Linked DNA regions of Homo sapiens: regions 1, 3, 4, 5, 6 and 7 are each linked to region 2. Evidence: promoter capture Hi-C in 16 types of primary human blood cells and fetal thymus (Javierre and others, 2016). All regions are on one chromosome and are shown on one strand. The core of a region is centred on a gene start or on the middle of the fragment in contact, and the rest is flanking DNA. Distances in the headings are between cores, read along the strand shown.

Region 1 (3,877 bases), core at 292-2,791, 850 kb before region 2:
TCGAACGTGGGAGGCGGAAGTTGCAGTGAGTCAAGATCGCGCCACTGCACTCCAGCCTGGGCAGCAGTGAGATTCCGTCTCAAAAAAAAAAAAAAAGTTTTGTTTAATAACACCAACATCTAGGCTTCTTAAGGGACAATTTCTATTGACTGATTTTTTTCCCCTTATGTATGAGCCATAATGTCATACATAAGGGAAAATGCATTTCATAATGTTTTGCATCTCATAACTTTTTGGTGATAACTAGACATTTAAAATAATGTAATGTGTCACCTCTGGAAATCAAATTCTTCCTTTCCCCAGGGTTTGGTATTATTGCTGTTTGTTGTTCTTGTTTTTCCTTTCAGGTTTTTTGGTCAGCCTCTTTTTTTTTGGTAGAGAATGGGTATAATTCTTCTTCCCTAGCAAACATGGTTGGTAACAGAAAACAGAGTCCTTCACACAATTATGCTATCAGGACAAAGCATTCTTTTTTAGCCTTGACCTCCTGGGCTCAAGTGATCCTCCAGCCTCAGCCTCCTCAGTAGCTGGGACTACAGGTGCATCCCACCACACCTGGCTAAGCCAAAGCATTCTGTACCTTACTTTTAGCTCTACCTATGTGCGCACTCCACAGGCTATTTTTGTATTTCTCTGTAATTCTTGCTGTGGCTTATGTAGCAGCTTTCTAATGTGAGTTCTGTTTTTTGTTTTTGTTTTTCTTTAGTAGATAGATACTATAGAAGGGGAAAGGCGGTTGACTATTTTATACTGTGATGTGCATGGCATTATAAATTCATTTTTACCAGGCCATATGGAAATGAATATAATTAAGTTAAAAATAGCTTCTACTGGCCGGGTGCAATGGCTCACGCCTGTAATCCCAGCACTTTGGGAGGCCGAAGCAGGTGGATCACTTGAGGTCGGGAGTTTGAAACCAGCCTGGCCAACATGGTGAAACCCCGTATATATTAAAAATACAAAACAATTAGCCGGGCGTGCTGGCGCATTCCTGTAATGCCAGCTACTTGGGAGGCTGAGGCAGGAGAACTGCTTGAACCCAGGAGGCGGAGATTGTAATGAGCCGAGATCGCACCACTGCACTCCAGTCTGGGCTCCAGAGCAAGACTCTGTCTCAAAAAAAAGAAAAAGAAAAAAAAACAAGCTTCTACTGCCTCAGTTAAAAAAAGAAAAAAGTAGCAAAAACAATAAAAATGGATTTAAAGTCCGGGTGTGGTGGCTCACGCCTGTAATCCCAGCACTTTGGGAAGCTGAGGCGGGCGGATCACCTGAGGTTGGGATTTCGAGACCAGCCTGACTAGCCTGAGGTTGGGAGTTCAAGAGAAACCCCCTCTCTACTAAAAAAAAAAAAAAAAATACAAAATTAGCTAGGCATGGTGGTGCATGCCTGTAATCCCAGCTACTCGGGAGGCTGAGGCAGGAGAATTGCATGAACCCAAGAGGTGGAGGTTGCAGTGAGCCAAGATCACACCATTGTGTTTCAGCCTGGGCAACAAGAGTGAAACTCCATCTCAAAAAAAAAAAAAAAAAAAAAAAGAAAAACGGATTTAAAGTATAAACTCAGGAAAAGAATGAAAACCCATTTATTACTGAATTTGGTGTAAGACAAGATGACCATCTTTTTGTAGGGAAAATAAAAACGAGAGCAACTTAAGATATACAGGAGCATCACTAATAATAAAGGAATACAAACTATGGAAATCAAGAAATCAGAGAACTTCTTAATGATGAGATATTTGGGTTTAATTTTCCAGGAGAATGTATTTGAAAATTTTATGACTTGGCTAAAGTCGAATGGACCTTTGGAGTTGGGTATAGAAAAGGATCTTTAACAGTGTCCCAGTTTCTGTAGTTCTAGTTTATACCTGTATATTGCACACTCAGGATATAATCTAGTTAGTTGAATTCATTATTAGTGGCTTAGGTTCCTTATTCTAATCAAGCTTTTTGCTGTGTTAGGTGTACAAAGATAATCAATGCTGATTCGGAGGACCCAAAATACATTATCAACGTAAAGCAGTTTGCCAAGTTTGTGGTGGACCTTAGTGATCAGGTGGCACCTACTGACATTGAAGAAGGGATGAGAGTGGGGTAAGATTTCTATTTACAATAAATACTTTTCTTTCACTAAGGATACTGTCTCACATTCATATCCTTGGCTTTGTAGTGAATAAATGGACTGAGTTCCTTGGAATACCAAAGGATGATCTAGTAATGTACTATAGTTGAAAATTCTGTCTTCTGCATCTGCTTCCTAACTTCCCATCGGCTTCGCTGACTCCCCTACTCCCACTGTTGTTTATTATGAATGGCTTCAAATTTCAGAGTTGAGGTTACCAGTCCATTTAAGGTAACATGGTATAGGTTGGGGGAGTACTTGCTTTAGGATAGTTGTGATGCTAAGTGTGTTAATGTCTATAGAATACATAACAACTCACTTAGTAAATTAAAAAAAAATCTCCCCTCCCTCCTCAAAGGTTTGATTGCTGTTGGATAGGTTGTTTGCGACATTAGACATGTAGTTTAGTATCCTCAGATTTCATGCTCTCTTTATTTCTCTTTATATAATTAGGGACTCTGTCTCTCTCTTGTTTTCTTAAAGTATGGTTTTGGGGATAAAGGACTAAACATAAAAGCACTTTGAAAGCTTAAAGAATGTATTAATGACTATCTTTTTTACTTCCTTAGCGTGGATAGAAATAAATATCAAATTCACATTCCATTGCCTCCTAAGATTGACCCAACAGTTACCATGATGCAGGTAAGAAACTATGGGAGGGAAAAGGAAGGCTATGTCTTTTTTTTTTTTTTTTTTTGAGGCGGAGTTTCACTCTTGTCCAGGCTGGAGTAGAATGGTGTGATCTTGGCTCACTGCAACCTCTGCCTCCCGGGTTCAAGCAATTCTCCTGCCTCAGCCTCCCGAGTAGCTGGGATTACAGGCACCCGCCACCACGCCCAGCTAATTTTTGTATTTTTAGTAGAGACGGTGTTTCACCATGTTGGCCAGACTGGTTTCGAACTCATGACCTCAAGTGTTTGGCCTGCCTCAGCCTCCCAAAGTGCTGGGATTCCAGGCGTGAGCCACTGAGCCCGGCAGTATTTTATATATATATTTTTTGAGACAGAGTCTCAGCCTGTCTTTATTTTACTAGTTTGTTTTTCATTCATTAGTGTCATAACAAGTTAATACAGCAAGTAGTTCCAGGGCACTGGGCAATGTATTCAATTTTTATTAAAATTCTCACTTGTGAGTTTTTCTTTTAAGGTATTAGGTCTATTCTATTGAATTTGGACAGTATCCAAAAAGCCTGTGACTGTATGTTGTACATTTCTGTCCCTCTCTTAGGTGGAAGAGAAACCTGATGTCACATACAGTGATGTTGGTGGCTGTAAGGAACAGATTGAGAAACTGCGAGAAGTAGTTGAAACCCCATTACTTCATGTAAGTAGCTGAGTGTTGTATTTAAATTTCTTTGTATAAAGATGTCTTTTGTGTATTGAGCACTAAAATTGCTTGTATATTAGATGGCTTTTAATATTTTCCCTAATGAGAGTTTTTTGAGAGGGTGGAGAGAGGAGGTGTGGAGAGTTGGTAAGTTCTAGGGGAGAGCAAGCAAAAAGGATTGAGTGGTCAGGTATATTTAAAAAAGAAAGATCTGCTGTTTACAGTGACAGAGGAGGCACAGTGTAACCTTTAGCAATATGTTAAATATGTTACAGGCTATTATAGAAGAAACTGGTTCTTCAAAAGACATCGAGAAGAAAGGGGCTTAAATTGAAGCAGGTTAAACTTGGGAGGATAATGGAAAACTAGGATACTGAATACCAGATAATTTTGTTCCTTAAACACCATAATTTTTTTTAAATTAGGAAAATA
Region 2 (4,134 bases), core at 1,202-3,701:
GATTTACGCAGGAAAAAGACTTTCTAAATGGCATACAGCTATGGCAAAAGCAGCTCAACTGCTAAAAATAGACTAAAAATTTACTTGAAATGAATAGGTAATGTAATACATGAATCTTTTTCTGAAGTTTATATGTAACAATCATAAATTAACTGGCCCAAAAATTCTGTCTCAGCAGGATGCAGTGGCTCAAGCCTGTCATCCCAACACTTTGGGAGGCCAAGGCAGGCAGATCACTTGAGTTCAGGAGTTCGCCTGGGAAATACAGTGAAACCCCATCTCTACAAAAAACACAAAAATAGCCAGGCTTGGAGGCAAACACCTGTGGTCCCAGCTACTCGGAGGCTGAGGTGGGCGGACTGCTTGAGCCTGGGAGGCAGAGACTGCAGTGAGCCAAGATCATGCCACTGCACTCCAGCCTGGGAAAGAAAGCCAAACCCTGTCTCAAAAAACAAAAACAAAAAATTCTGTCTCAAGAATTAAATGCATGTTGCTGAGTATCTCTGCTATCCATTACATGTTGTTGCCTAATAATACCTTAAACATCTTTTCTATTGTGACCTAGAATTATATTGAACTGTTCCACTGTTATTTAACCTTTCACCTTCATAAATCTCGCTAACATAAACTGCAATAAGCTAGTACCTGACACAGAAAAGGTGCTCGGTAAATATTTATTTATTGAACAAATAAATGAGTATTCTTAGAAACATGAACCAATTTTTTATATTTCTTTGCTATAGTTGTTTGTATTTCCCACATGCACAGCACCTTGCAGAAAACTGATATTAAAATATTGTTAAACATAATTTTCATTAAAAGCAAAGGTCAAAAACTCTTCTGTGATCCACCACTAAGTTTACTCATCCCTATTTGCCAATTTGCTCTTTCAGCAGGAACATTTCTGGCTGGAGTGATCTGCGTTCCATAGATGAAATGCAGAGAACATAATCAAGAAAATGCTCCAGTAATAATATAACTATAATTGAAAGCAGTATAAATAGAAAATTAATTGAAGATGCAGTTGTTGACCTCTAACTTCCCTAAATAATGCACCCCTTTAGACAGAGGGTAGTACTTTTCCACTAATGCTTCACAGGCCACCTCAAATTGCCATGCAATATTTCTAGTTGGATGAAAGTACAGTCACGTGTACATTCAAAGATGGACCACATATACAACAGTGATCTCATAAGATTATAATACCCTATTTTCACTGTACCTTTTCTATGTTTAGACACTTTTAGATGCAGACTTATCACTGTGTTACAACTGCCTACAGTATTCAGTATAGTAGCACCGCTGTAGAGGTTTATAGCCTAGGAGGAACAGGCTACACCATACAGCCTAGGTGTATAGCAGGCTACACCATCTAGGTTTGTGTAAATACACTTTCTGATATTCACAGGGATTAAATTGCCTAACGATGCATTTCTCAGGACGTATCCCCCTCACTAAGTGGCAGCAACGCATGACTGTACTTAAAAAAGCAAACCAGAAGATGGGGGTATGAGTATGACCCTGAATTCTCATTCACTCTCTTCGCAGGTAAGATCCAAGTTTGATTAATTCCAATTCTGATTGAGTCTGAATCAAAAAGCACATCAAAGACCACCAGAAAATAGTCAAAAATAGGTTAAATTTTGAATTGGTGAACGCTACCCTCTGCCTATTGAAAGGACTCCCTACGTATCTATGTTCATCCAGACAAGACAAACTCCTCTCTAGGGCATCCTGTGAACTATCAGTTAAGGAGAAAAGTTTACCCTAGACCTCTTCTGGACTGTTACAATTCTGGAAAAGCCAGTAAATTTTTAAACCTGAAGCACTGCTTTGGCCCTTAGTGGCCTTGAAAGCAACCACCTCTCTACACTTGACTCACTCCAACTACCGCACAGAAACGTGTGAACTTACATTTGAATAAATAACACCCTGCAAACACATCTGTTACATAAATGTCATTGGGTTGGGGTAAGATAACAAGCAACTTCTAGGAGCTAATGTGGGCAAACTTCTGAAAAGTGTGGCGTGTTTCAAATACGTCTTAGGCAACGTCCTATAGTGCAGGCCGGTCGCTCTCAGACTGTCTCCTCTTCAATATTCGGAAGAGACTGTGGGTGAAGCTGCAGTACAGAACCACAACACCCCTATTTAACGTAAAAACGGCCTTTTGGCCCTCAATCCAAACACGAAAAAACAAATATTGGAACAGGTCGCAAGACTACCGAAACGTCTGCCTCCAGGATCTGGAAGACAGTTTAACTACAATACCTCTCCAAACAAGGACTGCAAGATGGACACTTGAGACTCGCGACAAAGCACCACGTTTTCCAAGTGGGGCATTCTGGCAGGCACCACCGCAGAGGCCAGTGCAGCCAGCCCACAGGACCCTTGCACAAGACGGAGCCTCTCCCGAGTCTGGCGGCCCACGCTCCCGCCGGAAACCGGACCCGCAGCGTCGTGGGAGGAGCCTGCGCTGCCGGGCTGCGGCGTGACGGCAGCGCGTACGCCGAGCGTCGCCGCCGCTCTAGTCTCAGGGCCGGAACCATCCTCTTCTCGCTGGTCCTGTGCGCGCCGAGGTTTTGCCCATTCTTGGGCTTGGTGGGGATTTCGGGCTGACGCTTTTTCCACTCAAAGGCTAAGGAGACGACATGGAGATGGGCGAATAGGGAAGGGGTGGAAGGGGTTAAGGGGGTCCCGTGGGCCTCCAATGACCCCTGAACCCCGTGCCTTTAGTTTTACCGGCTGGAAGCCCCAAGTTTAGAAACCTTGAGTGCCTAAGAAGACGGACCCGGAGCTGGGGCCCTTAGAGGGACGTGGAAGGCGGACTTAGAAGACTAATATTGTCAAAAGATGTTTTTGTTGTCGTTTTTTTCCCTGACGACGTTGTGGGAAATTAGTGGCATTGAGTACAAAACAGGGTGTAATGGGGTTTAATGCACAGCTTGGAATTACTATTTTTTGTGCAAGCTTTAAACCAGATGTGGAAAGCCTCTCAGTCCTAATGGGATGAAGTCGTAGTGTGTGTTGGTGAGGTTGATAGTAAAAATAATGCTACTTTTAGCATTAGGCTTTCACGTGTATTTATTTGTGAGGCACCTACTAGCGACTAAACACTAGAAGATTCTGGAAATAAGATACAGAAGTAGGCAAGTGCATGGTGGAAAGAGAGCTTGGCGTCCTGAAACCCCTGGGTTGGGACCACTGACTGACTCAACTGCTGAATAGGGGGACTTTGGAATAGTTGAGCCTCAACTTCCTTATCTATAAAATAGGGATAATACTGGCTAGGTTATTGCTAGGAGTAGAAGATCCTGTACATACTACCTGTTATACATAAATTTAAATTGTGGACTTCAATCTGCCCATAGATTGTAGATCAGTCTTAGATTTGTGATGGTCAAAAGGATCTTTTGAGAGTTGTGGTATATAACGTATTAGCTAGTCAAAATAGTATTTTCACAGCAACAATTCAAAAGCATTTGCCCAGGTACTTTTTAATAGAGAATTCTAAAGGTTATAATGGGACCACCCATTAAATTTCAATGTCTCCAAGGGAAGCTGGCCTCTGATACTCTCCTAAGATGGTTATACGTCCGTAACATACTGTGCATATAAGGTATACATATATTATAATCATAACACGACATCTTTATAGCATTCAATAAAACTGACTAAACTGTCTAAAATGTTAGTCTCCCTCTCTATATACTTTATGAGGACAGGAAACACTGTCTTCACAGTTCAATTTCCAGCATACACAGTTAACGCCTGGCAGTTACATAATAAAGATAATTGTTGATCTGAGAGAACATGCCTTACCATCTGGATGATTTAGGATGGTTTCTCAGAGGAGAGAACCTGGAAGCTGAGGCTGAAGAAAAGATTCACCTGTGAGACCAAGAAGGAAATTGTAAACAAAAGAATGTACAGACAAAAAGGGACAAATGGGCAATCCCATAACTGAAACTAGCAAATAGTTTTTACATATAAACCTGGAGAGTAGTAGGAGGTCAGGCTGGGGACCAATAAAGAATTGTAGGCAGAGAAGCAAATGTTGAGATTTGACTTAGAAATATTCCTTCTGGCTACAGTGTGGAAAGTGGAATCAATTTCATTTGTTGAAACGACTAT
Region 3 (3,995 bases), core at 1,486-3,985, 770 kb after region 2:
AATACAAAAAAAAAATTAGCCGGGAGTGGTGGTGGATGCCTGTAATCCCAGCAACTCAGGAGGCTGAGGCAGAATTGCTTGAACCTTGGAGGCAGAGGTTGCAGTGAACCGAGATCGCGCCACTGCACTCCAGCCTGGGTGATAGAGTGAGACTCTGTCTTAAAAAAAGAAAAAAGATTTTCTTAGGTTACTGATTCAGGGTGACACAGGGTCAGTTGGTCAGTGAAGAGGTAGAAGTGAAATCCAATTCTCCCAATTTCTATTTTCTTTCAATTGTATGACAGGTTAGGTTTAAAGTCCTCTCCCCACCTGACATACACAATAGTACTGGCCATTTATCATCACGATGGTGGTGATTGACATTATATAATGTAAATCGGCACCATGAGATTGTATGTTATATATGTCTACATTTGTTTCAGGAAAGTCTATCAGGAAAGACATCAAAATCCTACCATTATTATCACTGGGTATAGAGTCTCATGATGTTAATTCTTAAGTTCTTACTGATTTGTATTTTGTTTTCCCCTCAAGAATAAACATGTACTACCTGTGCTACCCAAAAAAATAGAGGGTGCAAAACAGCCTCTAGTTTTTTTTTTTCTTTTTTTGAGACAGGGTCTTGCTGTGTCACCCAGGCTGGAGTGCAGTGGCACAATCTCAGCTCACTGCAACCTCCGCCTCCCAGGTTAAAGCAATTCTCCTGAGTAGCTGGGATTACAGGTGCCCACCACCACGTCCAGCTAGTTTTTGTGTTTTTAGTAGAGACGGGTGTGGGCCACCGCACCTGGACAAGCCTCTAGTTTTCAACATGTTCTTTACATAGGGAATTAAATAGGCTTTTCGCCCAGCAGTTTGAATATTAATCAGGTATGTTTGGAGGGGTAAGCCACAGGAAGGGAATCCTGGCAGAAAGTGCTAGTTTATCTTCCAATCTGTACTTTTCTTCTTATATAATGGAATTTTTAGCTGAATACAGAGTCATCCAGTTTCCAAGCCTCCCTTGCAGCCAGATATGGTCATAGATGGGAGTAAAAGTGATGTATGCAACATCCAGATTCTTTTTTTTTTTTTTTTTTGAGACATGGTCTCACTTTGTCACCCAGGCTGGAGTGCGGTGACAAGAACATGGCTCACTGCAGCCTCAGTCTCCTAGGCTCAAGCAATTCTACTGCCTTAGCCCCCCATGTAGCTGGGACTACAGGCGCACACCACCACACCTGGGTTATTTTTGTAGAGACAGGGTTTCACCCTGTTGCCCAGGCTGGTCTCAAACTCCTGAACTCAAGCGATCTGCCCACCTCAGCCTCCCAAAGTGCTGGGATTATAGGCATGAACCACCGTGCCTGGCCCAGATTGTTATCCTTAAAAGTGAGGACAGTGTCTTCATTTTCTCCCTTTCTGCTGGAACACAGATGTGAGGGTGGGAGCTGGAGCAGCTATCTTAAACAGTGAAATAGAAGCCATGTATTGAGGGTGGCAGCACCAAGAGAAGGAAAGCAGGCCCCTGACATTACTGAACTGCTACTCAATTTTGGCATCTGTTTGTTACAGTTGTCCAACCCCTATCCTAAGTAATACCAGATCTAAACATTTAGCACAACAGTGCTCTGACTTCCTCATCTGAAAACAAATGTGTTCTTTGGAAAGAATGTACAATTGCATTAGCCAAGCTTTCTTTTGTTTATGGGCACAAGGACCCAATTCTACCTCAGTGATGAAGAATGAGTCCTTAATCCAGGGCATGTTATATAATATGGATGGTAAGGAAACTGCAGAAATTCACTTGGTATTTTCAGCAGATCATGAATGCTTGGGCACTTGGTTTCTGGCTCTTTCTGCCCGATTCTAACCACCCCCTCCTCCTACAGACACAATTCAGAATTTGTGCATGTGGTGCAGAGTTTTGTGTAGGAGGGCTGCCTAAATGAGCCTTCTTGCCATCTGGCTTCTTGGGCAGTGTGGAGAACTCAAGGCCACATCTGCCACTTAGTGCAAATTCAAATGTATTGAGAGTTATAATGGCTCACGTATTAACACACAGAATAAGTTGACTGAAGATAAACCGTAGAGCAGAAACTTCTTTTTTTAAAAGCAGCTTTAAACAACATTTATTATCTCACAATTTCTTTGGGTCAGGAATCTCGGGTACAGCTTAGCTAGGTGCCTTTAATTTAGGTTCTCTCACAAGGCTGTAATCAAGGTGTTGGGCTTCCACCTTTTCATCTGAAGGCTCTCCTGGAGGCAAATTTACTTCCATACCCATTCATGTGGCTATGGGAAGGTCTCAGGTCTTCTAGCAAGCAGTAACTTTTTTTTTCTTTCTTTTTTTAAAGGCAGGGTCTTGCTCTGGGCCTGGAGTGCAGTGGCACAATCTTGGTTCACTGCAACCTCTGCCTCCTGGGATCAAGCAGTCCTCCTGCCTCAGCCTCCCCAGTAGCTGGGACTATAGGTGCCTGTCACTATGCCTGGCTTCTTTGTATTTTTTGTAGAGATGGGATTATAGGTGTTAGCCCCTGTGCCTGGCCAGCAGCAACTTCTTAATAGAAATTTTGAACTTTCTGGATTCTTAGGAACACAAAATATACTTACCTTTTGAGTTGAGGTTGGTCACTGCCAGAGGTTTCAGCCAGTGATTCTGGTCTGTGACCTTCTTGGGTTATGCTGAGCGTCCTTTATACTATATAGACAGAATGTCACAATTTATACCGGAGTTGGTCTCAAGCCCTCTTAACCCAAGTACTTAGCAGCTCTCCTCTATTCATGAAAGTTTGCAACCCATCAAGACTACTTAAAGATTAAAATAATACCTGATTGAATCCTGGATTATATTTCAAAGTTTTGTCTGAGAATTCCCTCACAACTTCTGAGGTCATTCTCTGATACCATGGTCAAGGTACGTGATATTACTTCTTTTTCCCATTTTTCAAATGAAGAATCTGAAAAATTACACAGCAGCATCAGGATTTTTTTTTTTTTCCTAAACTACTTGATAATGTGAGTCTAAGGATTTAAACGTTCCTGTCTGAAGCCAAAGCCTATTTTGTTTCCAGGCCTCAGTAAACAGAGTTGGTCCAGAGGCTGGAAAAGTCATTTGACAGCATTCCAGCCCTGTCAGCATCTTCACTGAGTAGCTTTGTTATTTGCTATAAACAGTTGTAAATTTCCAGAACTGCAGGCACACCCATATTAAAGTGTTCATTACTAAAATGCCTCATAATGCCAAATGCAAATCAACAAGTGAATTAAAGTCCCAGTGGAATTCTGTCCCTGGATCCCCTCCACTAGCACAGATAATTGAGAACTGACAAAATTTAACTTTTCTTAAATAATATTTAGTCAGATATCTCAAATCTGACCCCTTCTATCATTTAATGGAACTTCTCAATTGTGGAGGAAGAATGGTTGATGCTATGCTTTAAGCTGCTTTTAAAATGTGAAACCTATTTTGTTAACGGAGAAACGACACTTTTTTAAAAATAACAGGACTTCTCTAGGCCCCCAAGTTTTGCTGAAACTCAGGGAACACATATGGACAACTCTCTAGTTGTTGTTCTTCCTATAAATCCCAGAAACCATAGCTTCTGATTTAATGCCCCACCGGAACTGCAGACCTTAAAAAACAAAAATCCCACTGGGATGAAAGAGGCTCATTTGTTTTGAAGTTGTGGCCCTTCCACCCCCTGGGTGGCTCCTCCCCCATGTCTGTGTCTGTGGCTTTGATTTATAATCTTCCACCCCCACAAGCCTTGGCATTTACTGGGATCCTACAAAGAGGTTAAGGTGTAAAGCAGGAAGAAGCTTTTAAGGACAAGAGGGAGTTGGGGGTAGGGGCTGGGGTATGAAAAGAGAGTTAAGGAGAGGAAAAGCAATTATAAGAGACCACATGCGTAGCATAAATGAATGAGCACACGGGCAGGGAAGGCCCTGGCTGATTGAAGAACTGCTGAATGTGGTTTTGCCCGCCAAGGCAGTGCCTGTGGTTCTGTGATACA
Region 4 (3,996 bases), core at 1,279-3,778, 750 kb after region 2:
TGTGGGTTTGCTGAAATTCCAGAGCACATATGAAAAAAAGCTCATCATCACTGGTCATTAGAGAAATGCAAATCAAAACCATAATGAGATACCATCTCAGGCCAGTTAGAATGGCAATCATTAAAAAGTCAGGAAACAACAGATGCTGGAGAGGATGTGGAGAAATAGGAACACTTTTACACTGTTGGGAGTGTAAATTAGTTCAACCATTGTGAAAGACCGTGTGGCGATTCCTCAAGGATCTAGAACCAGAAATACCATTTGACCCAGCAATCCCATTACTGGGTATATACCCAAAGGATTATAAATCATTCTACTATAAAGACACATGTGGCTGGGTGCGGTGGCTCACGCCTGTAATCCCAGCACTTTGGGAGGCCGAGGCTGGCAGATCACGAGGTCAAGAGTTTGAGACCAGCCTGAAACTATGAGGTTTCAACATAGTGAAACCTCATCTCTACTAAAAATACAAAAATTAGCTGGGCATAGTGGCATGAGCCTGTAATCCCAGTTACTTAGGAGGCTGGGGCAGGAGAATCGCTTGAACCTGAGAGGCGGAGGTTGCAGTGAGCTGAGATCACACCACTGCATTCCAGCCTGGGTGACAGGGCGAGACTCCATCTCAAAAAAAAGAAGACAAATGCACACGTATGTTTATTGCAGCACTATTTACAATAGTAAAGACTTGGAACCAACCCAAATCCCCATCAATGATAGATTGGGTAAAGAACATGTGGCACATATACAGAAAATCTGGCACATATACACCATGGAATACTATGCAGCCATAAAAAAGAATGAGTTCATGTCCTTTGCAGGGACATGGATGAAGCTAGAAACATCATTCTCAGCAAACTAACACAGGAACAGAAAACCTAATACTGCATATTATCACTCATGGGTGGGAGTTGAACAATGAGAACACATGGACACAGGGAGGAGAACATCATACACCAGGGCCTGTTGGGGGGTAGGGGGCAGGGGGAGGGATAGCATTAGGAGAAATACCTAATGCATGCGGGGCTTAAAACCTAGATGACGGGTTGATGGGTGCAGCAAACCACCATGGCACATGTATACCTATGTAACAAACCTGCACGTTCTGCACATGTATCCCAGAACTTAAAGTATAATAATAATAATAATAATAATCCAGAGCAATTCCCTCCTGCCCTGTCTGAGATTTGATGTAAAAAATGCGTCTTCCAGGCTGGGCACGGTGGCTCACGCCTGTAATTCCAGCACTTTGGGAGGCCGAGGCAGGCGGATCATGAGGTCAGGAGATTGAGACCATCCTGGCTAAGATGGTGAAACCCCGTCTCTACTAAAAATACAAAAAAATTAGCTGAGTGTGGTGGCAGGTGCCGGTAGTCCCAGCTACTCGGGAGGCCGAGGCAGGAGAATGGCGTGAACCCGGGAGGCAGAGCTTGCAGTGAGCCAAGATGGTGCCACTGTACTCCAGCCTGGGCGACAGAGCGAGACTCCATCTCAAAAAAACCAAAAATAAATAAATAAAATAATGAAAATTTAAAAATGCTTCTTCCGGCCAGGCGCGGTGGCTCACGCCTGTAATCCCAACACTTTCGGAGGCCGAGGCAGGCGGATCACCTGAGGTCAGGAGTTCAAGACCAACCTGGCCAACATGCCAAAACCCCATCTCTACTAAAAATACAAAAATTAGCAGGGCATGGTGGCGGGCGCCGGCAGTCCCAGCTACTTGGGAGGCTGAGGCAGGAGAATGGTGTGAACCTGGGAAGCAGAGCTTGCAGTGAGCCTAGATCATGCCACTGCACTCCAGCCTGGGTGACAGAACAAGACTCTGTCTCAAAAAAAAAGAAAGCTTCTTCTAGGGAGGTTTAGTCTCAGGCTGGCTCTCCAGGCCCAGAAGGGGTCATCTCAAATTTCTGCTCTTTGTGGACAGAGCTAATCAAATACTTTTTGGGTAGGGACAGCAGACATTGCCATATTCAGCTTCTTGAAGCTCCTTCAGACAGTGGAAGCTGGACCTTGAAGCTCCCCTAACAAATAATGTAGCAATTGTTGAGAGTCCTCATGGTCATGGGATAATGCTTGGCAGTCAACAGGGGCTCACATTCTGAAATAAGTAACGCCAACATGGTCATGCTTACTGAAAACTGTAAACTACTTTGAAGCATACAGAAATGTGTATTCTGAAATAAGAGACAGGCTGATAAAAGAGGAAAAGAAAAAGGGGTTTGCTTGGTTCTTAAGAGACAGGGATGGGAGTTCCCTGTAAGCAGAGTTGCACAAGAGATGGTATGGAGGCAGAAAAGAGGAAGCAGGGAGCAAGGCAAGGCCAAAGTCAACTGAAACAGGAAAACTAGCCAGAAAGCACATTGCTTGCTCTTTGAAGACATTTCCTTCAAGTTCTGCCTTGCCCCAAAACCTAACCCAGGCCAGGGTGGTGAGCGCTCTCACCTCTGAGCCTCTGACACATGGACTGCATGTACTGCTATTGCTCCTTGGCATATGGCCCAATTTTCTGAAATCATAAGCATTTCTGTGCAACCATCCTGTCACTCCAGTTAAATTTCAAGACAGATTTTTTTTTTGAATAGTATATCCTTAGTGGAAGAAATAGGAACCATTTTATTTTATTCATTTATTTTTTTTGAGACGGAGTCTTGCTCTGTCACCCAGGCTGTAGTGGAATGGCGCGATCTTGGCTCACTGTAACTTCTGCCTCCTGGGTTCAAGCCATTCTTCTGCCTCAGCCTCCTGAGTAGCTGGGATTACAGGCGCCCGCTACCACACCCAGCTAATTTTTTTTTGTATATTTAGTAGAGACGGGGTTTTGCCATATTGGCCAGTCTAGTCTCGAACTCCTAACTTCAGGTGATCCACCCACCTCAGCCTACCAAATTGCAGGGATTACAGGCGTCAGCCACCGCGCCCGGCTCCAGACTGGGTTTTTTAGCAAAGAAGGAATTAATACAGGGAAGTTGGTGCTCATGAAATAGTTGAAAGTACTGAAGGAATAAGCATGTAGGCTGGGGCCTTCTGGAATGTCTACCTGAATGCCACAGAACTGACCCTCATTTCCCTCCCTCCAGAAGCTACAACCTCAGCCCAGATTAGCAGGCTGAGGGGTCAGGAGGCTGTCACTGGAGCTGTTGAGCTCATGAACACGCCGAAGTTGCTGCGCTCCAGAAATGTGGAAGTTGGAATGAAGAGCCACCACTGCTGCCACCAACATGAAGCTTGACCAAGCAAGCCAAGAAAAGATGGCCAAGAGCCTCTGCCTTCCTTCTGCCTTCTGCAACGCAATGGTGAGCTGCACATCCACAACTTGAAGGGAGTCTGGGAAATGCAGAGTTAAACTTTCTAGCCTCTCTAAGCTTTCAACTGTTACAGAAAGGCAACCCAGGAGGAGACTGGAATAAATGCTGAGTGCCAATTTCCAACACAAGTAGTCATTATAATTGGGGTGAGTGTTATCTTGCCCTGGCTCAGGGGTAATCTTGTGTTGGTTCTGTTCATCCCCACCAAAATCAAGTGCAGGGCTTATTCTCCCTTCCCTAACCATCAGGTCACTAGGGGTCCAGGGCCTCACCTTCCTTCTCAAGAGTTAATGAGCATTCCAGGATGTTGTAAGGAAGGACTGTCCATATGGAATAGGGAGGACACAAACCCAACATTTTGCTCTGACTGTTAGCCAATAAACAATGTCCTGGTTGTTGCTTGCTGTCAGGCATAAGTCCTCACTAGACACCTACCAGAAGGCAACTAACCCAATGGTCTGGCATAGGCAAAGGGGCTTACTAAAATGTAGGCTGGCACTCACTTCTAGCCCTCTCCTCCTGTCCCCACCACCTCTCTGTCTTATCACTTCCCTTCTATCTCCCCTCCTCCCTCAGCCTAGAGAATATTTTTCTAACTTAGGTAAGGAGCTTTGCTGTTATTCCTGATGTTTTCTCCTAAATCTTTTACCAGTTTGTTCTCTCCAGTTCACTAAGGATCTAGACCAGTGGTTTT
Region 5 (4,259 bases), core at 661-3,160, 830 kb before region 2:
GCAATTATTTAAATAAGAGAAACAAAACTAAAATATTAAGCTTCACCCCATCTTAGAGGTATACTCACCACTGCATCCTGCTAAGTATACATATATACCGACGTCTCCATATTCTTTTACAATCTGTAATAATGTTGAAATAAAATTTAGTTTCTCTTTACTCTGTGCCAGATGAAAGTCTCTTTTTACCAATGTTTTTCGTGATAGAAGACACTCTAATTCATTCACTTGAGCTACTTTGCTTCAATAATGATGTATTTTTGAGCTAATCAGTTAAAAATAATTTTGTATCTCTTTTGCTTTTTATGTGGACAGTGATAATTAGGGGTAGCAAAAATACTGTTAAATCTTACTTAAGTACAATAAAACTATTATATTAACTTAAAGGATATTATAATTTCAAAATAAAAAACGATTTTTTTTAGAGACAGCATCTCACTAGTTTACTCATGCTGGTCTTGAACTCCTGAGCTCAGCAATCCTCCTGCTTCAGCCTCCTGAGTAGCCTAGCATATTACAGTAATGTTTTCTAAAACGAATCTTCTTGTAGCAATACACATTAAAATATTTACAGATGATGTTATGACTGGGATGTGTTTCAAAATAAAACAAGAGAAAGTGAATGTCAGCTATAAAGGAAACCAGATTGACCATAAATTGATCATTGTTGAAGCTGAGTGATAGTTCACGGGGGTTCAATATACTAAAATCTTTACTTCTATATATTTTTGAAATTTTCCATAATCAAAAGGGGATAAATCTTTTGTTGAAAAGAGAGCCTAGCCCACCTCCCTGATTATGCTGATAGTACGACACCAGGCATAGAGGTATTAAATGACTCGTTCAAGAGGATGCTTACCCCTGCCAGAGTTTTCACTCCAACAGAATCAATAAAATTGACTTGAGTGAAATCCAAAATGACAGTGTGGACGTTATCCCCTGGGGGCATAAATCTTTGCATTTCCTCAGGAAATGTGCTTTTGATCACTATTGGGGGATATTTTACTTCACCATCCTCTTCTTCAGGCTTGGTAGCATCCTCTCCATCTACTTCTGCATCCTGTGTCAAAAATTAAACCAAACCAGAATTTTATGAACAACTCACATTTCTGGTTGTGAGAAAGATTTATAATGGAAAATCTGCTCTTGTGTTCTTAAGCTACTGACTCTACCAGACCCCTTGTAAAATATTTGTCATATTCTAGCCTTGTAACTGAACAAAAAAAGGATGTATGTATAACATTCCATTTTAAGTCAACTTCTCTCTTTTTCCTTCTCCTCCTTTTTTTTCTTGTCCAACAAAATCCACTCTCCTCAGTTATCCTATCCATTTTCTGCTAAAGTCTAAAATAGTTCCATTAACTTTAGTATGATGGGTCACACATTAGCATGCCTGAACAGCAAAAGCCACCTTTGAGCTTTTTAAACTATCAGCTGAATAAATCTATGACAAAGTGCTAATGGTAAAATCTGTTAAGGTATTGTGTAATTTTTATTTTTTAAAATGATGTTTTCCTTACTTTTTTCAGAAACAGCCTCATAACTGACCTTATCAGGTGCTTGTAAAATATAGAGGATACTAAGGTGGTTTCTAAACTTTCCTCTTTTAGTAACTTCGTGCTGTGTTTAAACTTCAGTCATGAGTAAAGATGGAGGGCATTGCAGAACAAGACAGAACGGATTATTTCAATGAAAAGACCACTCACTGCTTTGACAACAGTTGCGTTGGCCATATTTGCATTTCCGACTTCCTTAGCGTACTTCCGCATGGCCTTTCTCCTTGCTCCCATGATGACTGCTGGGTTCACTCCAGTCTTTACAGAAGAGCACCATATGCAAAATCACTTCATGGCTCTCAGGGACCCACCCCAATGCCACTCCCCTTCAAATCTCCCCATTTAACTGCTTTCTGGGTCAGATTATCACCCCAACCCTTGCACTGCCTTTCCCTCAGAGGCCCTGAACTGGTTACTCCCTTACATTAGTAGCCTTTCTTATTCTCAGTCTTTATTCAAGACAACCAGAAGCTAAAATATTAAAGACAATTTTTAGAGCAGTCTTTTTCAAGTTCAGATCTGTCAGGTTGTTATATTTAAGAGACTCTGTGGGTTGACAGGGAGCTTTTCCTATATACAGCGTGGTGTAGGGTTGAGTTCTAAACATGACCAAAGGAATCTACATGATCCCAAGAATAAGAAACCTAAAATTATTTTCTCATGTTTTCTTAAAATTTTGTTTGAAAAGTAATATTATATATACGATAAGAGAGAATGAACAATGGTGATGGCTGCACAATGTTTATGTACTTAATGCGACCCACTGGACTGTATACTTTGAAAATGCTTAAAATAGTATATTTTATGTTATGTATATTTTACTACAATAAAAGAGAGAGAAACAAAGCGAGAATGAAATAGTATATACAAAGGTATACTAGTGATCCTCATATCCCTGTCAACCCACAAATCCCATCCTCAGAAATAATCAATTTCTCATGACTCACCTTTCGTTTTAATGCATTGCTATACAAGTCGCTATTTGCATAGTAAATTGGTGCATTTATTTGAAATATTTTTATTCCAGGAATTTCTTTCACCTGAAGAGTAAAATATTGCTGAATTTAACACATGGAAATATTTCAGAATCAAAACTGCATAGCTTCCCCACCCCAAATAGAAAATGAATGCAGAAGTTGCTAAGGTCCCCTTTTCAGGGCTTAGCTAAAATGATGTCACACACAGACCAAAAAAAAAAAAAAAGATAAGAAAAGAAAAAAAAAGTCACTCTTATCTACTCATGCTCTGAATGGAAGAGAACTGACAGAGACCTTTTTAACATGCACATCTTTCCATTTGTTTTAAAAGTCAGTCTTCGTTTTATTTTTACCATTAAACACAAAGAAGAAACTGAAAAATACTCAAAAACAGAAAAGAAAATGGACAGGAGATGGAAGGCTGCTGCCCAGACTGTGAGAGGCAGGCAAATAAAGTGAACAGAAGTTTACACTGGTTTGATTCACAGAAGCAGGAAGGAGCTTAAATGGACACAAGTGAAACTGAGTGAATATTTTATCAAGAACCCTTGTGGAACTCTAGGAGGCAGGCTGGAAACAAGCAATGTTGCATATACTTCTTTGGATCGAGGAAAAATATAGCAATTCTAACACCTTTACCTTAGAGTGAATTTTGTTTCCTCATATCCTAATACCTTAAAGTGAGTCTGAGAATTTCTTCCCAAGCATAAGACAAGACCGACAGACAAAACTAGTTTTAAAAGATTTTGTAAAAATCTTCGATATTCCACAGAAGAAAAGAACACTCAAAATCAAGGAAATCTGAAGCTGTAATTTTAACCATTCAAATGAAGTGGGAGAATTCCACAGCCCCACCATCTACATTTTACATGGTTAAAATTATTTTACCATTATACATTCATCAGAAAAAAACCATGCACACACAAACCATCCTTTCAGTTTCAATACTGTATAAATGTATACTTTAATTTCAACAATATATATTTATCCCCATTAAAAATGAGGAAAAATAAATATTGGAAATTGAGTAGTTAATGCATAGTATAAATTATAAAATTGAATCCATATAGTAGATCAAAGCTCAGACTTTTCACTTTGACCACTATACCTCCCATCTTACCCCTACTTTTTATCCTGGGTAAAAACAGTACTTAGCCAAGCACATCACATGCTTACAACCTTTTTAAGTGATAGAAAAAGGTCCTACCTCCTCATATGCGTCTATATCAATATACACATCAGTTTCAGGAAGCTTTCCAAGGACTTTGTAGCTTGGACTGAAGATAAAGAGTGTTAAATACCATTGTGTTGAGGCACAGCGTGTGATTTCAACAGGAGGTTGTGTATGTTTATGTCAGGTTGGGGTTTGCTGGTGCATTTGGGAATGCTTGATCCTTACATGGTGCCTTTGCAGAAGGGCTCCACACATATCACGTTCCCAGTGCCATTCCAAGCCTAATACACCCCACACACCTCATGCCACATACACATCACATGCCACACACACACATACATACCACACATGATACGCACACACCATGTACACCTCATACTACACATACACATCCCAATACCTACCTCACACACCACACACATACACAATATACATACCTACACACAATGCATACACACCACACATACAGAATACACACACATTATACGATATACCACACATATACATACACACATGCATACATACCACATGTATAATGCACAATACATACCC
Region 6 (3,896 bases), core at 1,016-3,515, 900 kb before region 2:
TGGATTGCATGTGGGCCAGAAAAAGTTTCTTTTTTTCTTTGCCACAAAGTTTATTAGTGGCAAAATTTGAATAAGGACAGAATTAGCTAGAAGTACTATGTCAATGTTAATATCCTAATTTTAATAGTCAGTAGGCCCTCTATATCTGTGGGTTCCATATCCGTGGATTCAACCAACCATAGGTGGAAAATTTTGGGGAACAAATGGATGGTTGCATCTGTACTAAACATGTATGGACTTTTTTTTTGGTCACTTCCTAAACAATATAGTATAACAACTATTTACATAGCATTTACATGGATTGGGTATTTATCTAGAGATGATTTAAAGTATACAGGAGAATGTGCTTATATGCAAATATTACATATACCATATTACATGAGGGCTCTAGCATCTGTGGATTTTGGTATCCACAGGGATCTGGGAACCAATTCTCCACAGATACTGAGGAACTATACCAAGGTGATGTAAGAACATTAATTTCCTTGTTTTTCACAAGTACATACTAAAGTATTTGGGGCAAGAAGCATCACATCTAAAACTCAGTTGAAAAAACTTGTATAAAGAGAATAAAGCAAACATGGTAAAATAACAGGGAATCTAGATAAATGAAATTCTCTGTACTGTTTTTGCAACTTTTTTGTAAGTTGGAATTATTTCAAAACACATTGTATAGATTTGTCTTTACTCATAGATTTCTCCAAAATACATTTCATCTAAATAATCTTAAGCTTCATATGCAATATAACTTTGAATCTTTAAGCGTATGTAGCCAAGAGTCCTAGAAATTGGGTTGATAATAGCCATCTAGTTTTAGAAGTAGGTATAGCTACTACATTAATTATAAGGACTCATTGCTTTTATAACATGAATTTCTCCAGGGGGTGCACTGGGTAAGTGAGATAATAAACACAATTCTTAGTCATACTGAATTTTAACTCTACTACTGAGATGTTGAATAAAACTAGGAAACAGCCTCTAAGGATATTCACTATTTTCCACACACTCCATTTTTCTTTCTGTATTTTGGACATGTATAATTAAAATTCTCTTGGAATTTTTTTTTCCTTGCAGAATTTATCTAGCAAGCTGGCCCAGCTCACTTGTCATGGCAATCTTTGCCATAGCTTTCAGTCTTTCAACACTTCCTACACAGATACAGGATTATGGGGACTGTATATGGTTTGTGAATCATCCACTGTTGCAGACATGCTACATGTTGTTCAAAAAGAATGGTGAGAAAAATAGCTTTAAGTAATTTAAATTTTGCCTTTAATTCGTTTTAAACTAGTTTTTTATTTATACTTTATGGTGATTTATGGTAATTTTACCTTTTAATTAAGAGACCTAGATAAACAGTAGTTGCCATGTTTTCAAAGGTTGCAGTTGGTTTTTCCTAAGTCTCAAGATGTGAAGCTGATTTATACTATAGAATTTTTTTTTTTTTTTTTTTTTGAGATGAGGTCTTGCTCTGTTGCCCAGGCTGGAGTGTAGTTGTGCCATCTCGGCTCACTGCAGCCTCCGCCTCCCAGGTTCAAGCCATTCTCCCACCTCAGCCTCCCGAATAGCTGGGATTACAGGCGCACCACCATGCCCACGATGCCTGGCTAATTTTTTGTATTTTTTAGTAGAGATGGGGTTTCACCATGTTGACCAGGCTAGTCCTGAACTCCTGACCTCAGGAGATCCACCCTTCTCAGCCTCCCAAAGTGCTGGGATTACAGGCGTGAGCCACCACACCTGGCTGAAAGTTTTAATCTTTCAGAAGCAGGTTAATTCAGAAAGATGATCCTAAAAGTTTAAAAGCCAACTAGAAGTTGTTTGGAAAATATCTCTGAAAGTAATCTGGTTGAAGGGAAAGTAAATCTGAAGTTGCCACTGCTAAAAGAAAACAAAGTATATTGAGTCGATAGATGGGCAGAAAGGCTCGCAGCTTCTTGGAAAACATTTAGCTCTGGTTCCTTTCCTCCACTATTCTTAATTGGTTTACATCTTTCTAAATCTAGTCAACTAGGATGTAATTATTGTTAAAAATTAGATTTAAGTTAGACTCTACTCATTGTTTTCAGAAACCAATGAATGACCCACTGACTTAACCCATAGCATATCAGACTCCAACAGATGAGGACTCATGAAGTCTCAAGATGCTTATAGCATTTCTGAAAATGTGATCAGCCCATTTGTATAAAGCCTTTGTCTGCTAATGTGTAATTAGGCATGTTTATGTATCATTTTTGAGAAATTAATACTGGGGAAAATAATCATTTTAGCTTTTGCTTAGCATTGGAATTAAATTGTAATCACCTGTATGTTTTGTGTAGAAGATGGCATCATCATTCTTAGGTCATTAACTCATGAAATACAACATTTTCCAACTACTACTGTTTTTCCACGTTTTTTAGGATGCGACTCTGTACAAGTGTCACAGAAAGTGAGGTTGCACGAGCCAGAAATCTTCTGAAAACAAACATGTTGTTGCAGCTTGATGGTAAAAATAAAGATATAGGTTCTGTTTTCATATGGTTGATCTGTATTCCAATAGTTAATTTTTCCTTCTCTTTAAACAGGTTCAACTCCAATTTGTGAAGATATTGGTAGGCAAATGTTATGCTATAATAGAAGGATTCCCATCCCTGAGCTTGAAGCAAGAATTGATGTAAGTAGTCCTGAGTTACTATTGGGTCATGTGTAAAAAGATCCTTGTTACAAAAGCTGAGAATATGTATCTTTCATCTTGCTTTAGTTTTAAAAAGTTCCAGGTATAGACTTTGTTTTTACTACAAACAGCTGAATGACAGTGTCTTCCATATTTCAGGCTGTGAATGCTGAGACAATTCGAGAAGTATGTACCAAATACATTTATAATAGGAGTCCAGCTATTGCTGCTGTTGGTAAGCCTGGCTTCTTTTCTTCTATGCAAAAAGTTGGCCAAGTACTTTTAATTAACTCTTCTTTTTAATCCTTAGGTCCCATTAAGCAACTACCAGATTTTAAACAGATACGCAGTAACATGTGTTGGCTTCGTGATTAAAATGCTCCTAATCAAGATTGTTTGAACACATGTATTTATAAAACAGAGCTAGAGAAAAATAAAAATGAACATGTATATACATTTGGAAATTTGAATTAAATACTGTATCATACTTTCAAAGGATAAAAAGACTACCCCTCTGAAGGTTGTTTTGTATTAATGGTCAGTCTTTGTTCTCTGAGAAATTATGTTGGAAGCAGCATACTTTCAAATTATTACCATGAGTATAATTTTAAGAATGAAAATGTTTACAGTATTTTCAGTTTTATTATAAAAATGCACACACAACAAAGATTGTCATTTCTTGGCTCTACTTGCATTCAGCACTTGTTCTTGAGCAGCTTTCTTTGCTTTTACCATCTCGACAAGTTCCTAGGAAGGGAGAAAGGTGTGATTTAAGAAGTTGCGATTTAAAAACAGACATTTTAATCTAGTGTTTGGTGTAAAGAATTCAAGCAACTAAGATAGATAGTACTAAATATACTGATTTCATTATCTGCCAGGGCCTAGAAAGTTTCTAAGGTTGCTCATTTCTTCCTCATAATATTGACCCCATAACTACTGGTTTTGAAATAAGCACTATATTATTAACCACTTAATAGACATAAAATATGAGCTATATCACCCAAGCTACAATTTAAAATACAACAATCTATAAACGCTTAAGTCTGCAACCTTGTATCGTTTCATGCAGTCCTTCTTTGTCCTGCCAGGCACCGCTTCTGCTATTTTTTCCCATCTTTCAGGTGTATTTACTGGGTATGTTTTCAAAGCTTGTTCCAAAAGCTTCTGTTCTTCTGTTGTCCAAGGGGTGAAGTCTGTATATGGACCTGATTAAGAAAAATTTTTATTTGAAAACTGTCTT
Region 7 (4,012 bases), core at 1,273-3,772, 790 kb before region 2:
ACGGGGTTTCACTATGTTGCCCAGGGTGGTCTCGAACTCCTGACCTTGTGATTCGCCTGCCTCAGCCTCCCAAAGTGCTGGGATTAAAGGTGTGAGCCACCGCGCCCAGCCTCTGGACCATTTTCTAACACTGCAAACTTGTACCTCAAGTGGGTAAGTAGCTAGAAAATCAACCACTGGTTATACAGAAAACAATGGAAGGTCTGGAGTGGCTTGGTGCCCCACAGTGCGCTGACCACACTAATGCCTTCCCTGTCTCTCATTGAGCTGGGGGCATGCTTCATCATGTAGACTAAAGTGCATGATCATGATCACTGGCTGTTTCTTCCAAGCAGAGAGGAATGTCCTCTCCCAGCACTAACCAATCCTGCCGTGTCAAACTTGTCTTGCTTTTGGGATCTTTAAAACACCCACCTGAAGCTTGCTTGCTCGTCACTCATAGTTGTGAATATGGCATGCAGTTGGTCTGCAGTTACTCCCAGAGCTCTGGGGTTTTTCTGGCTGACCCCATCCACCGTGTAGTAAGACCAGCCAAGAGCACTCAGTAGATACTTGTTAGGTTAACAAACGAGACAGTCCATTTCCCCATCTTTGAGCCTTACCTGAATGATTCCTGAAAGTAAGGTCACAGACATGGCGACTTTCACTCTCAAGGCATCTCTGGCCTCTGTGCCATTGGTTGCATTTACTCCTCCTGGAATGACTATATCATCTGGTACTAATCGAACAGCTACACCACCAATCATCAGGCTAATAACAGCAAAAGGACCTGAAATAATGAAGCATGAAGATCCCTGTTCAGGGTTCAGAGTATCTGATATGGTTTTTGCCAGTACACCAAGAGACAAAGGTGAGGTCAAGAAATCATGCTTGAAGGAAGGCTACGCTCCCTTCTTTAGTGTCCTGCCCCTGGTGTATGAGCAACCGTGTGTGTGCGTGTGTGCGCATGCAGACTGTATTTTCCAAAAATAGACATAGCAATATCTTCCATCCACAGAGTCTTCTTGACATTTCCCCATCAAGAGGTGGAGTCTAATTTCTCTCTCCTTGAATCTGGCTTGGCTTTGACTTGTTAGTAATCAAAAGAATGCAGCAGAAGTGACGTTGTGTGACTTCTCAGGCTAGGTAATAAAAGGGCTGCAGTTTCCACCTTCTGCTGAAGCCCTAAGTCACCATGTGTAAGAAAGCTCCAACTAGGCCAAGTGGAGAATTCCTGGGACTGCATGGAGAAAGGAAGGCAGGGAAGAGGGAAGGGAGGGAGGAAAAAGGGAGAGAGGAAGAATTACCCAGACCAGCCCTTCCCAAGTCCTGAACTGCAGGCACTATGGAAGATACAAACATGATTGTTGTTGTAAAGCTGCTACATTTTGGGGGTATTTGTTACCAAACAGTAGATATCTGGAAAGTATGTGTGTGTTAGGTAGTAGCCTTATGCAGCACCAGAACTATTATGAAATCCATATGCCCCTGATAAACTGAAAATATGTACAATTCAGAGCCCAAAATATGACAAAAATGAAATACATGCATAGCGATTAGGAACTTGAAGTACTACCATTAGTATAAAAATAAAAACCAGAAGCTGGCAAATTACATTATGAAATCAAGCATTTATCTCATTTCACAGATTTCAACAATTGCCCTTTTACACAAGAAAATTGTCTTTTTTATTATCCCAAGATTATAAGAAAATTGTAAGTTCTAGAAATCTTGGGAGGAGTGTAGTTTTTTTTTTGTTTTTTTTTTTTTTGAGACAGAGTCTCGTTCTGTTGCCCAGGTTGGAGTGCAGTGGTGTGATCTCAGCTCACTGCAATCTCTGCCTCCCAGGTTGAAGCGATTCTCCTGCCTCAGCCTCCTGAGTAGCTGGGATTACAGTCACCCCTCACCAAGCCTGGCAAATTTTTGTATTTTTACAAAGAGATGGGGTTTCACTATGTTGGTCTGGCTGGTCTCGAACTACTGACCTCAGACGATCTGCCCGCCTCGGCCTCCCAGAGTGCTGGGATTACAGGGATGAGCCACCGCACCTGGCCGAGTGTAGGTTTTTAAAGCACCTATTGTGTATGCAGTAACAAAAGTTGTTATTAAGACAATTTTTAATAATGACCATGCTATTTCTTTGGCACATTGCAAGGTTGGAAATACACAAGGAAAGGTAATAGAATATCAAATGTAAGCTTTTACCTATGGATATGTGTCTGGAGGTTCCAAGAAAACAATACATGATAACAGGGTAAAATGAAGAGTACAGGCCAAATATTGGAGGCACAGCTGCCAGCATTGCAAAGGCTAAGCCTGTGGGATTAAAAACCAAACAGAAATGGGGGATCATTAGAAGACAGAGGTGTTACATGTGTTTTTCTCTTGGTTCTTTATTTCTGATGAACGAGTGAAGCCCATCTTAATTTAAGCTGCAACCTGCCCTACCCCAGTCCTGCACATCATCTTACCTTGGTGCTGATAGAGTCCAAGCTGAGAAACTTTGCATTGTCATCTCCTTTTTGCCAGTGGGTGATTTTTTTTTCTGCTTTATTCTTTCACAAATTAGATAAAAGCAGAAAAAAGTCTTATCTTAGTGGTTGTCATTGTAATTTGGTGTTGACTCACAAATGCGAGCTCGTTCTCCAATGGGGTGTTTTTGTGGGTTCTCTGGAGACCCCTTTGCAATAAGGGACTCTCAGTTACTATGCCCTAACCTATGTAATGCTCCCTCCTCCTGACTCTTAGATATCCCTCCTCCGACTCTTATCAGAAGGTACAGCCTTCCACGTTCTTTTGGCTGGTGTATGCTCATCCTGTAGGCAGTCTTCTTAGGCAGGTACCTATCAAATGGGCCAAGTCTCATTACCTTCCAGTTACTCAATGGGAAAGCTTGACATTTTACTCCCAAGAAACTTTGGAAGTGCAGGTCACACCCTCTAGGGGACTCTTTCCCTCACTCTGCGGTCCTAGGCAGTTCACATCATCCTTTAGACATTTTTTTTTAAATAGAATTTTTAGAGCAGTTTAGGTTCACAGCAAATTGAGCAAAAGATACAGAGGTTTTCCATACATTCCCTGCCCTTATGTATGCACAGCCTCCCCCACTATCAACATCCCCCACTATCAACATCCCCCACCAGAGTGGCACATCTGTTACAAGTGATGAACCTACATTGACCTATCACTATCACCCAAAGTCCATAGTTTACATGAGGTTTACTCTTGGTGTGGTACAGTCTATGCAAATGTACAATGACAGGTAGCCATCATGATAGTGTGATATAAAGTAGTTTCACTGCTCAGAAATTCTCTGTGCTCTATTCATACTTCCCTCCCCCCATCCCCTGGACACTAATGATATTTTTACTGTCTTTGAAGTTTTGCCCCCCCCTTTTTTTTTTTTTAAGACAGGGTCTTGCTCTGTCACCCAGGCTGGAGTACAGGGGCATGTTCATGGCTCAATGCAGCCACAACCTCCCGGGCTCAAGCAATCCTCCCACCTCAGCCTCCCTAGTAGTTGGGACTACAGGTGTGTACCATCACACCTGGCTAATTTTTGTAGAGACAGAGTTTCCCCATGTTTCCCAGGCTGGTCTTGAACTCCTAGGCTCAGGCGATCTGCCCACCTCAGCCTCCCAAAGTGCTGGGATTACAGGCATAAGTCACTGTGCCTGGCCAGTTTGGCCTTTTTTAGAATGTCATTCAGTTGGGATCATACAGTATTAAGCTACACCAGGCTGACTTCTTTCACTAAGTAATAAGCATTTAAGGTTCCTTCATGTCTTTTCATGGCTTGATAGCTCATTCCTTTTTAATATTGAATATTTCATTGTTTGGATGTACCACAGTTTATCCATTCATCTACTGAAGGCCATCTTGATTGCTTCCAAGGTTTGGCAATTATGAATAAAGCTGCTATAAACATCCATGTGCAGGTTCACTTGAAAGTTTTTTAAAAACTAGTTTTTAGAGCAGCTGGACTTTTTCATGCAAGAATTAGGCAGCAGTCTTCACAAACTCCAGGGGGTAC

What was found. The method cuts DNA at HindIII sites, captures the fragments that hold promoters and counts their contacts. A CHiCAGO score of 5 or more calls a contact.
Region 1: a fragment that was not itself captured here is called in contact with the fragment with the promoter of ORC5 in region 2 in 1 of 17 cell types (naive CD4 T cells); the score reaches 5.1 in naive CD4 T cells.
Region 3: a fragment that was not itself captured here is called in contact with the fragment with the promoter of ORC5 in region 2 in 2 of 17 cell types (M0 macrophages and M2 macrophages); the score reaches 8.3 in M0 macrophages.
Region 4: a contact is called between a fragment that was not itself captured here and the fragment with the promoter of ORC5 in region 2, in 1 of 17 cell types (naive CD8 T cells). The highest score is 5.1, in naive CD8 T cells.
Region 5: a fragment that was not itself captured here is called in contact with the fragment with the promoter of ORC5 in region 2 in 1 of 17 cell types (M2 macrophages); the score reaches 5.5 in M2 macrophages.
Region 6: a fragment that was not itself captured here is called in contact with the fragment with the promoter of ORC5 in region 2 in 2 of 17 cell types (non-activated CD4 T cells and M2 macrophages); the score reaches 5.8 in non-activated CD4 T cells.
Region 7: a fragment that was not itself captured here is called in contact with the fragment with the promoter of ORC5 in region 2 in 1 of 17 cell types (megakaryocytes); the score reaches 5.2 in megakaryocytes.

What each region holds. Positions count from the first base shown.
Region 1 is chr7:103,359,998-103,363,874 of GRCh38, forward strand. PSMC2 (proteasome 26S subunit, ATPase 2) reads left to right here. Exons shown (of 12, transcript NM_002803.4): 5 at 1,960-2,091; 6 at 2,689-2,761; 7 at 3,347-3,442. It also overlaps a transcript of SLC26A5 not described here. Among named protein-coding and RNA genes, the nearest start is that of PSMC2, 14 kb to the left of the region's middle. The HindIII fragment of the contact is 799 bases long and covers 1,143-1,941 here.
Region 2 is chr7:104,205,562-104,209,695 of GRCh38, forward strand. ORC5 (origin recognition complex subunit 5) reads right to left here and starts at 2,452. Exons shown (of 14, transcript NM_002553.4): 1 at 2,272-2,452. The coding sequence starts at 2,343. RefSeq lists enhancers at 2,111-2,300, 2,341-2,420, 2,471-2,630. The HindIII fragment of the contact is 7,936 bases long and covers 1-2,968 here.
Region 3 is chr7:104,975,551-104,979,545 of GRCh38, forward strand. No RefSeq gene overlaps it. Among named protein-coding and RNA genes, the nearest start is that of LINC01004, 14 kb to the right of the region's middle. The HindIII fragment of the contact is 2,128 bases long and covers 1,672-3,799 here.
Region 4 is chr7:104,958,910-104,962,905 of GRCh38, forward strand. It overlaps LOC101927902 (a long non-coding RNA gene), which reads left to right. Exons shown (of 2, transcript NR_187679.1): 2 at 3,075-3,425. Among named protein-coding and RNA genes, the nearest start is that of LINC01004, 30 kb to the right of the region's middle. RefSeq lists an enhancer at 2,445-2,514. The HindIII fragment of the contact is 1,381 bases long and covers 1,839-3,219 here.
Region 5 is chr7:103,376,740-103,380,998 of GRCh38, forward strand. SLC26A5 (solute carrier family 26 member 5) reads right to left here. Exons shown (of 20, transcript NM_198999.3): 15 at 3,741-3,810; 16 at 2,504-2,596; 17 at 1,707-1,814; 18 at 860-1,060; 19 at 69-123. Among named protein-coding and RNA genes, the nearest start is that of PSMC2, 31 kb to the left of the region's middle. RefSeq lists a silencer at 3,861-4,148. The HindIII fragment of the contact is 3,745 bases long and covers 39-3,783 here.
Region 6 is chr7:103,309,241-103,313,136 of GRCh38, forward strand. It overlaps PMPCB (peptidase, mitochondrial processing subunit beta), which reads left to right. Exons shown (of 13, transcript NM_004279.3): 9 at 1,075-1,235; 10 at 2,403-2,488; 11 at 2,568-2,656; 12 at 2,816-2,891; 13 at 2,967-3,896. The coding sequence ends at 3,031. DNAJC2 (DnaJ heat shock protein family (Hsp40) member C2) reads right to left here. Exons shown (of 17, transcript NM_014377.3): 16 at 3,707-3,861; 17 at 3,049-3,403. The coding sequence ends at 3,329. Among named protein-coding and RNA genes, the nearest start is that of PMPCB, 14 kb to the left of the region's middle. The HindIII fragment of the contact is 3,073 bases long and covers 730-3,802 here.
Region 7 is chr7:103,410,818-103,414,829 of GRCh38, forward strand. SLC26A5 (solute carrier family 26 member 5) reads right to left here. Exons shown (of 20, transcript NM_198999.3): 5 at 2,185-2,295; 6 at 603-769. Among named protein-coding and RNA genes, the nearest start is that of SLC26A5-AS1, 32 kb to the right of the region's middle. The HindIII fragment of the contact is 694 bases long and covers 2,176-2,869 here.